Linked DNA regions of Homo sapiens: regions 1 and 3 are each linked to region 2. The links are contacts of gene promoters, found by promoter capture Hi-C in human tissues and cell types (Jung and others, 2019). All regions are on one chromosome and are shown on one strand. The core of a region is centred on a gene start or on the middle of the fragment in contact, and the rest is flanking DNA. Distances in the headings are between cores, read along the strand shown. Region 1 has its middle 5.8 kb from the start of RFPL1. Region 2 holds the start of NEFH (neurofilament heavy chain). Region 3 overlaps THOC5 (THO complex subunit 5).

Evidence for each region. The method cuts DNA at HindIII sites, captures the fragments that hold promoters and counts their contacts. A contact is called where the count stands out against the background at its distance.
Region 1: a fragment that was not itself captured here is called in contact with the fragment with the promoter of NEFH in region 2 in 12 of the 25 tissues and cell types used here (H1 embryonic stem cells, IMR-90 fibroblasts, bladder and 9 more).
Region 3: a contact is called between a fragment that was not itself captured here and the fragment with the promoter of NEFH in region 2, in 5 of the 25 tissues and cell types used here (IMR-90 fibroblasts, dorsolateral prefrontal cortex, hippocampus and 2 more).

The regions. Positions count from the first base shown.
Region 1 is chr22:29,430,984-29,434,633 of GRCh38, forward strand. It overlaps a transcript of RFPL1 not described here and the pseudogene RFPL4AP6. Among named protein-coding and RNA genes, the nearest start is that of RFPL1, 5.8 kb to the right of the region's middle. The HindIII fragment of the contact is 7,578 bases long and covers 1-3,650 here.
Region 2 is chr22:29,478,733-29,482,504 of GRCh38, forward strand. It overlaps NEFH (neurofilament heavy chain), which reads left to right and starts at 1,486. Exons shown (of 4, transcript NM_021076.4): 1 at 1,486-2,413. The coding sequence starts at 1,531. RefSeq lists an enhancer at 2,508-3,362. The HindIII fragment of the contact is 10,845 bases long and covers 1-3,772 here.
Region 3 is chr22:29,526,060-29,529,981 of GRCh38, forward strand. It overlaps THOC5 (THO complex subunit 5), which reads right to left. Exons shown (of 20, transcript NM_003678.5): 9 at 3,103-3,180; 10 at 2,367-2,407; 11 at 2,019-2,118. Among named protein-coding and RNA genes, the nearest start is that of THOC5, 26 kb to the right of the region's middle. The HindIII fragment of the contact is 3,617 bases long and covers 1-3,176 here.

The sequences.
Region 1 (3,650 bases), core at 350-2,849, 48 kb before region 2:
ACAACCTCAGTTAAAATTACGGCATGATTAAATCAAAATCTGATTGGGTTAAGGAAGATAAGCAGGATGTAAATGAGAGGGGAGGAGAGGCTCTTGTAATAAAAACCCCTTGTAAGTGGAGCTCACTCAAAACTGAGCTGTCGGTGGAAGCTACTGGAGGCCAGGGGAGAACCTAATGGAGGAGACACACATCCAGGCTTATGTAGTTTTTCTCGACTTACTAGATTCCTACCAAGGGCAGGTATTAGAGAGCAAGGGCTGCAGGATGGAGTCACTATGAATTCGGCAACATTGTTTGAGGGCAGCTCAATGCCAGGCACAGTGTGTGCACTTAGAGAGACCCTGGGTCACCTTCTAAAAGCAGACAGCAGAACTTAAATTTTCAGTACCCAGTCTGGAGAAATGACAGTCTTCATTTTCCTTAATCATAGTGTGGCCAACTCGATGAGATGATGATGGAGTTTCTCTCTTTGACCTATTCAACCTTTCAGCTACTTAGGAGGGGCTTTTGCCACAGCCAGATTAGAACGATTTTGCAGGGGATAGGGGTGTTGGAGGGTCTCTGAGTCTAGTACATAGCTGTCCAGTAGAAATATAATGTAATCCACATATGCAATGATAAGTTTTCTAGTAGCCACATTAAATTACAAAATGTAAATTTTAATACAAAAAAGTTATTTCAGCGTGTAATCAATCTTTAAAAGTTCTTTTTTTTTTTTTGAGATAGAGTCTCACTGTGTTGCCCAGGCTGGAGTGCAGTGGTGCGATCTCAGCTCTCTGCAACCTCCATCTCCCGGAGACGATTCAAGTGATTCTCCTGCCTCAGCCTCCTGAGTAGCTGGGATTACAGATGTGCGCCACCAAGCCCAGCTAATTTTTTTTGTATTTTTAGTAGAGATGGGGTTTCACCATGTTGGTCAGGCTGGTCTTGAACTCCTGACCTCGTGATCTACCCACCTCGGCCTCCCAAAGTGCTGGGATTACAGGCATGAACCACCACACCTGGCCAAAGTTCTTAATAAGATAACTTACATTCTCTTTTTCTCATACCTCTTCAAAATCCAGTGCGCATTTTACACTGAAGGTGTGATACGCTAACTTACATTAACTTGATTGACTCTCTCTTAGCTAAGAAAGCTGGATGGATTCCATTCGGCTCCTTCATTTGCAAGACATTAAGGGCTCCTTACCCACTCCCTCCCTCAAGGACTTAACTTGTGCAAGCTGACTCTCAGCGCGTCAAAGAGTGCAATTAACTGATAAGATACTGTGGCAAACTATGTCCACAGTTCCCAGGAATTTGCTCAGGTGACAGTACTCTAAAGCCCCCTGCATTTGTGTCTGGAGCCCCCCTCCTATCACCCTGTGATGAATTTAAAGCCCCTGCACCTGGAACTGTTTGTTTTCCTGTAACCATTTGTCTTTTCAACTTTTTTGCCTGTTTTACTTCTGTAAGATTGCTTCAGCTCAATTCCCCCTCCCCTTTCTAAACCAAAGTATAAAAGAAAATCTAGCCCCTTCTTCAGGGCCGAGAGAATTCCGAGCGTTAGCGTCTCTCGGTCGCCGGCTAATAAAGGACTCCTGAATTAGTCTCAAAGTGTGGCGTTTCTCTATAACTCGCTTGGTTACAACAAAGGCACATCCCAATTCCAATAAGCCCCATTTGGGGTGCTCAAGAACCACATGTGGCTGGACCGCTGGGCCTAGACCCTTCACAACACCAGCTTCTCAACTGAAGAATCATGTCCTTCATTCCAACTAGCATTTCCGATATTAGAAGTTCAAGGCCATGACTCTTCTTATATGTATTTTATAGTGTTTTTATCACCTATCACTAGTGATTGTTTATAGCAGGCACTGATATGTCTCTATGCATGTAAAAGTGAAAGAGCCTAAAGGAGTATTGTCATTCAGTTAATTGAACTCCAATATCATGTACCGTTTCTGCAGACATTGGCCATGGCAGAACATTTTAAAGAAGCAAGTCGATGTGTCGGCTGCCTATCTTATCCTGAAAAACCCACTTACTAGCCAGGCACATTGGCTCACGCCTGTAATCCCAGCACTTTGGGAGTCTGAGGTGGGTGGATCTCGAGGTCAGGAGTTAAAGACCAGCATGGCCAAGATGGTGAAACCCCGTCTCTTCTAAAAATACAAAAATTAGCCGGGTGCTGTGGCAGTGCCTGTAATCCCAGCTACTCATGAGGCTGAGGCAGGAGAATCACTTGAACCCAGGGGCAAAGGCTGCAGTGAGCCAAGATGGCACCACAGCACTCCAGCCTGGGCAGCAGAGCAAGACTCCGTCTCAAAAAAAAAAAAAAGGAAAAGAAAAAAGAAAATAATAAAAACCCACATACCTAGAGTGTGGATATCTCTGCTGCTTCCGCTGTATCAGTTCATTTCCAAAGGAGCCCAATGGGGATGATGTATTGTGCGCCATCTGCTCTGTGGTCACTATAAAAGACATCACGCCCCATCTCCTGCTGGGAAAACTGGTTTCCAAAATCAAGGAAGTGGAGCCCCAGCTGAGAAGAATTCTATATTAAAACCCAAGGATGCGGAAGTTTCAAGGTCAGAAATCTGTATAACCTGCGCTCGGCCCACCAACAGCCTTGGAAAAAGCAACTGTTCAAAAGGCTCTCCATTAAATAGGGGCATTAGCTGAATTCTGGCACCTAAAATGTGTATGCCCACCCAACAACAGTTCTCAGCTGTGAGTATAGATTAGAGACAACAGAAGATTTTGAAGAAAATATAACATTTAAGTCATACCCTAGACCTGTGCTGCCCAATATGGTAGCCACCAGTGGCTATGGGGCCCTTGAAACATGGGTGTACCCCATGTGGAAGTGACAATAATTCTGGATATACAAGCTTATAATATGTTATTTAAAGTATTGTTGAATTTTTTTTAATGTCTACAGAAAAATTTAAAATTACCTGGAGATCTTTTATAAAATGCAAATTCTCCTTCTATTGGACTAGGCTGGTTGAGAATCTGGATTTCTGACACACACTCACACACACACACACACACATACACACAAATTTTTTTGAGATGTGGTTTCATGTTGCCCAGATTGGTCTCAAATTCCTCAGCTCAAGCGATCCTCCCACCTCAATCTCCCAAATTGCTGGTATTACTGACATAAGCCGCCGTACACAGCCTGATCTAATAGTATAATAAATAGTTTTTCCATCATCTAGATATTCATTAGATATCTATATTTGAACAGAGTCTGCTAAATTTTATGATTTTGAGAGTAAACAACAGACATGGTTTCTGCCTTCATGGATCTCAAGAAATCTTGAATAATCAAAATGTAAAAAGAATGCTTACTATGAACAAGAGGGATTTGTTACAATTCTATTTCAATCTTCTCTAAGAAATTCTACGGAATCAGGGAATGCAGGGAAGTTTCTATTTGCTGATTTACCTTTTTTCTTTCCACAGTGGATATGACGTCAGATATTGACACAGCCAACAATCGACTCATCATTTCTGAAGACCTGTGGAGTGTCCATTGTGGATTTCTTAGAACCGCACAGAGTATGCCGAGATTCAAACAAGTCATCTGTGTCCTGGGCTCCCCTCGCTTCACCTCTGGACACCATTACTGGGAGGTAGACATGGGGACAGGCAAATAATG
Region 2 (3,772 bases), core at 236-2,735:
AAACATGAGCCAAAACCAATAAAGAGCCAAATGTCACAGCCGTTGCAGGGCCCCCTAAATCCTGGGGACCCCTTCTTCTACCTGACATCCTATTGGGGTGAGGGACTTTGGTACTCAGAAAGCATCTCATCACTTCCCTGTAAGAGAGAAGGGATGCCGACTCAGGCGCCTGCTTGTCTGTTACAGGAGTGGGGGAAGAGAGGACAAGTTGAGGCTGAGAAGATGGGGAGGGGGAGGGAGAAAAGAGGACTTCCTAGTGTTGACAGAACGGCAAGATGTGGGTTCCCCATCCCCAGTTCAGCCAGAGACCCCTCAAAGTGGAACTTCCTGGGGCAGTCGGGGGTCAGGAGTTGGAGCTTGTCTCTGGGGCAAGACCCCTTCGTTGTACAGATGGAAAAACAAGGGTGGGAGGACACAGCTTGTCCAAGGTCATTCGACCAGCAAACTGCCTAGCTGACCCCAGTGTGCAGAAGCTGGCTCGGGTGACACCCATCATTTCCCCCCACCCCACACAGGGGCCAGCTCTCTCAACTTCATGCCCAAGCCCTCCTACGGTACCCCCACTGTAGGTTCTCTGCCCCTCAAACTCAGCCCAGCTTTCTCCTGCCTGTTCAGGGGACCTTCTGCCCGCTTCGCTGAGGGTCCGTCCCCTTTACTGGGGCTGGCAGCAGGGTCTCCCATCTCCTCTCTCGGGGGCCACTGCAGACTTTTTAGAGAACGCCTTGCCTCCCCCCAACCCCACCCATCCGGGGTTCCCTCTCTCCATCCTCTGCAGTGTCTCCCATACCCCCATTCAGGGTAGCCTTGCTATTCTCCCCAACTCCAGGTCCCCCTTCATCTATTCCGGGGCTGGCCGCGGAGTTTCCTGAGCGCTCTCCAAGTGGGTCCTCTAGATGTTAGGAGAACACTGTACCTCCCCCGGTCAGGGGTCTCCTGTCTCCGTTCTATGGAGCGTCCATGCTCCCATTCAGGACTGCCTTGCTCCCTCCTCTGTTCCGGGGCTGGCTGCACAGTCTCTGCACCCCCTATCCTGAAAGCCTCTCTTAACTATTTGGAAAGCCTCGTGTCCTGTCTCATACAGGGATCCCCTCATCCTAATGACTGCAATCTTCCATTGCTCCATCCCGAGGGCATCCTGCCCCTATTCCCATCAGGTTTCTCCTTGTCCTCTCCCTGTTTCAAGTCCCCTTTCTTATTCCGAACACACTCGCAGGCTCTTCCGACGCGCACCCGGGGGTCCTCACTGGCCCACTCCGGGAGTCCTCTGCCCGCTTCCCCGACCTCGAGGGTCTCCTCTGACGCAGCGTCGATTCCCCTTCCCTCCTCGGTCCCCTGCCCCGCCCCTCTCACTGCGGCGGAGCCGGTCGGCCGGGGGGCCGCAGGGGAGGAGGCGGAGAGGGCGGGGCCCTCCTCCCCACCCTCTCACTGCCAAGGGGTTGGACCCGGCCGCGGCGGCTATAAAAGGGCCGGCGCCCTGGTGCTGCCGCAGTGCCTCCCGCCCCGTCCCGGCCTCGCGCACCTGCTCAGGCCATGATGAGCTTCGGCGGCGCGGACGCGCTGCTGGGCGCCCCGTTCGCGCCGCTGCATGGCGGCGGCAGCCTCCACTACGCGCTAGCCCGAAAGGGTGGCGCAGGCGGGACGCGCTCCGCCGCTGGCTCCTCCAGCGGCTTCCACTCGTGGACACGGACGTCCGTGAGCTCCGTGTCCGCCTCGCCCAGCCGCTTCCGTGGCGCAGGCGCCGCCTCAAGCACCGACTCGCTGGACACGCTGAGCAACGGGCCGGAGGGCTGCATGGTGGCGGTGGCCACCTCACGCAGTGAGAAGGAGCAGCTGCAGGCGCTGAACGACCGCTTCGCCGGGTACATCGACAAGGTGCGGCAGCTGGAGGCGCACAACCGCAGCCTGGAGGGCGAGGCTGCGGCGCTGCGGCAGCAGCAGGCGGGCCGCTCCGCTATGGGCGAGCTGTACGAGCGCGAGGTCCGCGAGATGCGCGGCGCGGTGCTGCGCCTGGGCGCGGCGCGCGGTCAGCTACGCCTGGAGCAGGAGCACCTGCTCGAGGACATCGCGCACGTGCGCCAGCGCCTAGACGACGAGGCCCGGCAGCGAGAGGAGGCCGAGGCGGCGGCCCGCGCGCTGGCGCGCTTCGCGCAGGAGGCCGAGGCGGCGCGCGTGGACCTGCAGAAGAAGGCGCAGGCGCTGCAGGAGGAGTGCGGCTACCTGCGGCGCCACCACCAGGAAGAGGTGGGCGAGCTGCTCGGCCAGATCCAGGGCTCCGGCGCCGCGCAGGCGCAGATGCAGGCCGAGACGCGCGACGCCCTGAAGTGCGACGTGACGTCGGCGCTGCGCGAGATTCGCGCGCAGCTTGAAGGCCACGCGGTGCAGAGCACGCTGCAGTCCGAGGAGTGGTTCCGAGGTACGCAGGCGCGCGGGTGGGGGGAGGGGCGCCCCTGCTGACCCCGCAGCGAACTTTTGGGCTGCGTGACCCAAGGGGGCGCTGCCGGACTGCGCGTGGAGTGGCGCGCTGCTCACCTTCCCTCTGCAAAGTGCATGCCCCTAGTTAAATCGCAGTTTTACTCTGGGTCTCTTGTGGGACGCCCCAACTCTGGGTTGTCCTTCGGTTCCCCCTTTCCAGGTTCTTTACGGCTGTACTTCAACTCTGGGCCCCCTGCTGCTCTCTACCCCAAGCTTAGGCGACCCCACTCTGAGATCCCTCCCCCGTCAAGAAAAAAACAAGTTTCCTCTACAGGAAAAAAGTGGTGCAGGATTCTGGTCTGCAAGCGCTGGAGACTCTTAGCCCTTCTAAGTAGCAAGGCTTCCCCGCCAATGCTGCCATGCCCTCTCCTACACCCCGCAAGAAACTCTATTCCTCTCACCCCTACCAGGCTCCTTCCCACTACCTGCTCAGTGCTTAACGTTCCTACCTTAAATCTTCCACGTGGGGGTGGGTCAGGACCTTTTCGCATCCTTTCTTCCTAGAGGGAACCATTACTACAGTCAGTTGTTGCCTGTGGCGGAGGTGGCTGGTGGGCCCTTTCATGTTTTAATGTCCCCTTTCTCCTTTAGGGAAGCTGGGAGCCTCCCAAGTCTGCCCCTCCCCCAACTCCTTGCAGCCCTGAGTCAGCTAGATTGCGCTGCCCTGAGGCTGTGCCCAGCAGCTGCAGGGTGACCTTGACCAACACTTGCCCTCTCTGGTTTTCATTTCTTTTTGAGTTGAAAGAGGAGGGTAGATCAACTGGGCTGCTTAATCCGGGGAGTTCCATGATGTCTCACGAAACTGTCTGTAAAACTTTGCGTTGTTTTTGAGAGAGAGGGCAGAGGCTTCAGTGATTTTCCAAAAGCATCTGTGATCGACAATAGTTGAGAATCTCCAACCACCTGGATGGTTTCTAAGTCTTTGCCAGCACTAGCAGGGAAAGCTGGGATTTTGATGCATAGCTTTTTCTGTTCCTTTTCCACTCCTCTGCAGAGCAGAACCATCCCCTCCTCCATCTCCGCAGCAAGGCCCCTCCCTGCGCAAACCTCTTTTGGGTTTGCCAGTCGTAGGGGCAGACGTCCCAGGATTGTACTGGCCCACTCAGCTGGCTTCCTTCCTCCCCGCCAAGACTTGTGCCCTGAGTGCCACTATCTGGGGATTCAGGATGTTCACTTTTACGAGCTAAAGACCAGTCTCCAGACCTCCACTGCCTCTGGAAGGTTTCCTGGGAACCACGAGCGGGTTGCTGGCGGGGGCCGGGGTGTGGCTACCAATGCTCAGGGGCAATGCTCAGCTAGG
Region 3 (3,922 bases), core at 118-2,617, 47 kb after region 2:
GTATTATGCCCACTACCTAGGTGACGGGATCATTCATACCCCAAACCTCAGGACCACGCAAAATAGTGTAACAAATCGGCACATGTATCCCCAGAATCGAAAATAAAAGTTGAAATTATAACAAAAAAAGAAAAACAGAATTATAGAAAAATTCAGAGACTTTTACAATCATTTACTATAAAAACAAAATCGGCCAGGCGCGGTGGCTCACACCTGTAATCCCAGCACTCTGGGAGGCCAAGGTGGGCAGATCATGAAGTCAGGAGATCGAGACCATCCTGGCTAACACAGTGAAACCCCGTCTCTACTAAAAATACAAAAAATCAGTCGGGCGTGGTGGCGGGCACCTGTAGTCCCAGCTACTTGGGAGGCTGAGGCAGGAGAATGGTGTGAACCCAGGAGGTGGAGCTTGCAGTGAGCAGAGATCACGCCACTGCACTCCAGCCTGGGCAACAGAGCGAGACTCTGTCTCAAGAAAAAAAAAAATCACAACAGTAATATAATGAACAAAAAGAAGCAAGGAGAGCATCTACAAATTCTTTGCTACGCTTCCCACCAAGAGGTAGGGCTTAATTTCTCTGCCCTTGAGAGTGGGCTGGACTTAGTGACTCTGCTTCTAACAAATACAAGATGGAAAGGGAACCAAGCGATCAAGGTCAATATCAGCAGAAATAATACAGTGGCATCAGGTACTCCTGATATGACATGATAGCGACGACCTCATCTATGCTATTCTCTCCCCCAAATCCATAATCTCAGTCTAATCAAGGTCATGAAACACAAGGAAAGACTGAGACACTCACTGCCTAGAGCAGACTAAGGAGCATGGCAACTAAATGCACTTTGAGACCCTGGCTTGGATCTTGGGACAGAAAAAGGACATTAATTAAAAAAGGAAGAAACTAAAAAAATTCTGTCATTTTGTTAACAGTATTGGGCCAATGAAATTAAGAGTGGTGTGGATCGCTGTTAATCATACCATCTTTAATTAAGATGTAACTTTAGGGAAGCTGAATGAAGAGTATATAGGAACTCATGTTATTTTGGCAAGTCTTCTATGAGCCTAAAATTATCTCAAAGCCAGCCATGGTGGTGCACGCTTCCAGTCCTAGCTACTTAGGAGGCTGAGGCAGGAGGATCGTTTGAGCCCAGGGGTTCAAGACCAGCCTGGGCAACATGACAAAACCCCATCTCTACAAAAAATACAAAAATTAACTGGCATGATGGCACATGCCTGTAGCCCCCGCTACTTGGGAGGCTGATGTGGGAAGATCGATTGAGCCCAGGAGGTTGAAGTTGCAGTGAGCCGTGATCATGCCACTGTACTCCAGCCTGGATGACGAGAGTGAGACCCTATCTCTAAAAACAAACAAACAAACAAACAACCAGCAAAAAGAAAACCAGTGCGTAGAGCCTATTTCCATTTGTGTAAAAAATAAAGTGGGAAGCAGATAAATATACATTTGTATAAAAGCTTCCAGGTGCAAAGAATCTTTCTAAAAAATACATAAGAAGTCTGTAATAATGGTTGCCCTTGGAGGTGAGACCTAGGACTGGTATATAGGAACCTGTGGTGAGAGGGAAACTTAAATTTTACTGTTAGCTCTTCTACTGCTAGAACATTTTATTATATGGTACTTTTTCATACAAACCAACTTCAAAACATATACTCTGCAGAATACAAAGTTCTACTTACATTTATTAAACATGTTGGTCTTACTAAAAACCTGTATACTTTTGCAACTTGTTCTAGATATTTGACTTGCTAGATTCAGAAAGAGGTATAGTTTTCTCAAGCTTCTGCCTTATGTGACTGGAGTTTTGTTGCTATGTTGTTACGGTTATGATTTAACAAAAAGAAACAAAGTCCATGCAAAACAATAAGGAAAAACAAAGCAATATGAAATGGGAATCCTTTGTTGGGCAAATGGGTGTTTGGCTCCCGGACCCTCTGCACCTGCAGCTGGGTGAACTCTTAGGTGCTACAGATCCCTTAAACAAGGTGAGTGCAACCAGACCTTTGCACTTCAGGTCGAGCATGACAGACAGTGGGTGCCTCTTCAGCATCTCCTTGCGTTTGTCGTCCAACTGAACCCCCAGTGTGGGTCTCCGGCGCTTCTGGACAAAGGAAAGTGCCAAGCTGATGAGCATCAGTCATAGCAATCTCCCCTTCCCTCTCCCAACCAGCCAGGCCTCAGCCCTACTGCCTGGCACCTGCTGCTTCAGCTAGCTGGGTTGTCAGACTCCCCTCCCAGCAGCACCTTCTTTCACACCTCTTCTGCTTCTAGGGAGGACGGCACCTGCGAACAAGCATGCCCCAGTGCATGCAGCTGCTTGATGCCCCCACAAGAGGAAATGGTTCTCACCGTAGTCTGCTCCTCCTCGGCATCTGAGTCACTCTCGTCATCTGCAGCCACAGAGAGAAGGCAGCTAGAGGTGAGGGGGCTCCAAATGCTCCCTAAAGCACTCCAACCCACATGGCATAAAGGGGCCCTGACTCTGTCTTTTGTAAATAAGTTTCTCTGTAATAAATAATAAATTAACTTGCTGCTTCTTATTCAGTATACAAAACATGGTGATGAAAAAAGAAAAAAGAAGAATGACGTATAACTCATTTTTTTCAAAGGGCTTTTTGATGTCATTTAGATGGAACACAAGCCCCTCCTTGTGATGGTGGTGGTGGCTGTGGTAATAATAGTAACACAAATAATAATAATAGTAGTAGAAGCATGCATAACTTGAGGGGGTACTATGTGCTGAGAATTATGCTAAAGGCTGTATGTGCATTACCTTATTTAATCCACATAACAATCCTACATGAGGTGTTACTATCTGTTTTCACAAAGGAATAAACTGAGGCTCTGAAATATTAAATACCTTCCTCGGGGTCAGTCAGCTAGTGAGTGGCAGGGCTGAAATCCACGGGCCGCACCTTGTGACTCCGGGAAGTGAGCTCTCTTTCCTGTCTACTCCAGGGTGCTAAGACATTCAAGTCAAGCTTCCTGCTACACAGAACTAGTCCAGCTAGTTCTCCAAAGACCAGGACTGCCCTTGGATGGTGACCTGGTGTCCCTGGGGGACGAATCCCAACCACCACATTACCTTGGGAGTCCTCTGGAGGTTTGAACAGAGCCTTGGCTTCATCCACACTGCCTTCGATTGCCACAGATAACGTCTTATCTGGGGGGCAAGAAGAAGTCTGTTAGGAAAGCTGCTGAGGAAAGCTGCTAAGCAGTGTGAGTAGGCCAGCTCTGGGGCTGCATTTCTCCCACCTCTGCCCAGCTCCTTGCTGACTAAGGGTGGAAGGGCAAAAGTCCTTGCTCCAGATGAAGGGAAACAAGGTGGGACACTTAAGCTTTTTTTTCCGTCATTTACTGAGAACAGAGAACTTAAGTACAAATTCCTAAACCAGCATCACCTGAAACTAGCAGTGAATGCCTCTCTTTTTTGGTGCACACCAAAGCACAGAAATTCAAACTGAGGGCCTAAAGCCACATGGAACTCCTCTGCCAGTTGTCTTAGAGGTTCTCACCCAGAAATCCACACCTGTCCACATCCCAGAAACAATGACTCTCACCTAAGTGCTTATTCTCTATTCTACACTATACCAAGCACATGGCTGCCATTGTCTCACTTAACTGGGAGGCAGTAGGACAGTGAATAGGAACTTGGATCTTGCAGTCCAGTTCCAGACCTGAGTCCCTGCCTAACCAATTCTCAAACACATGACCTGGAAAGTTATGTCACTGTCTGAGCCTCAGTTTCTGTATCTATGAAAAGGGGACTTGAAAAATAGTAGCTGCCGGGTGCAGTGGCTCACACCTGTAATCTCAGCACTTTGGGAGGCCGAGGCAGGTGGATCACCTGAGGTCAGGAGTTCAGAGACCAGCCTGGCCAACATGGCAAAATCCCGTCTGTACTA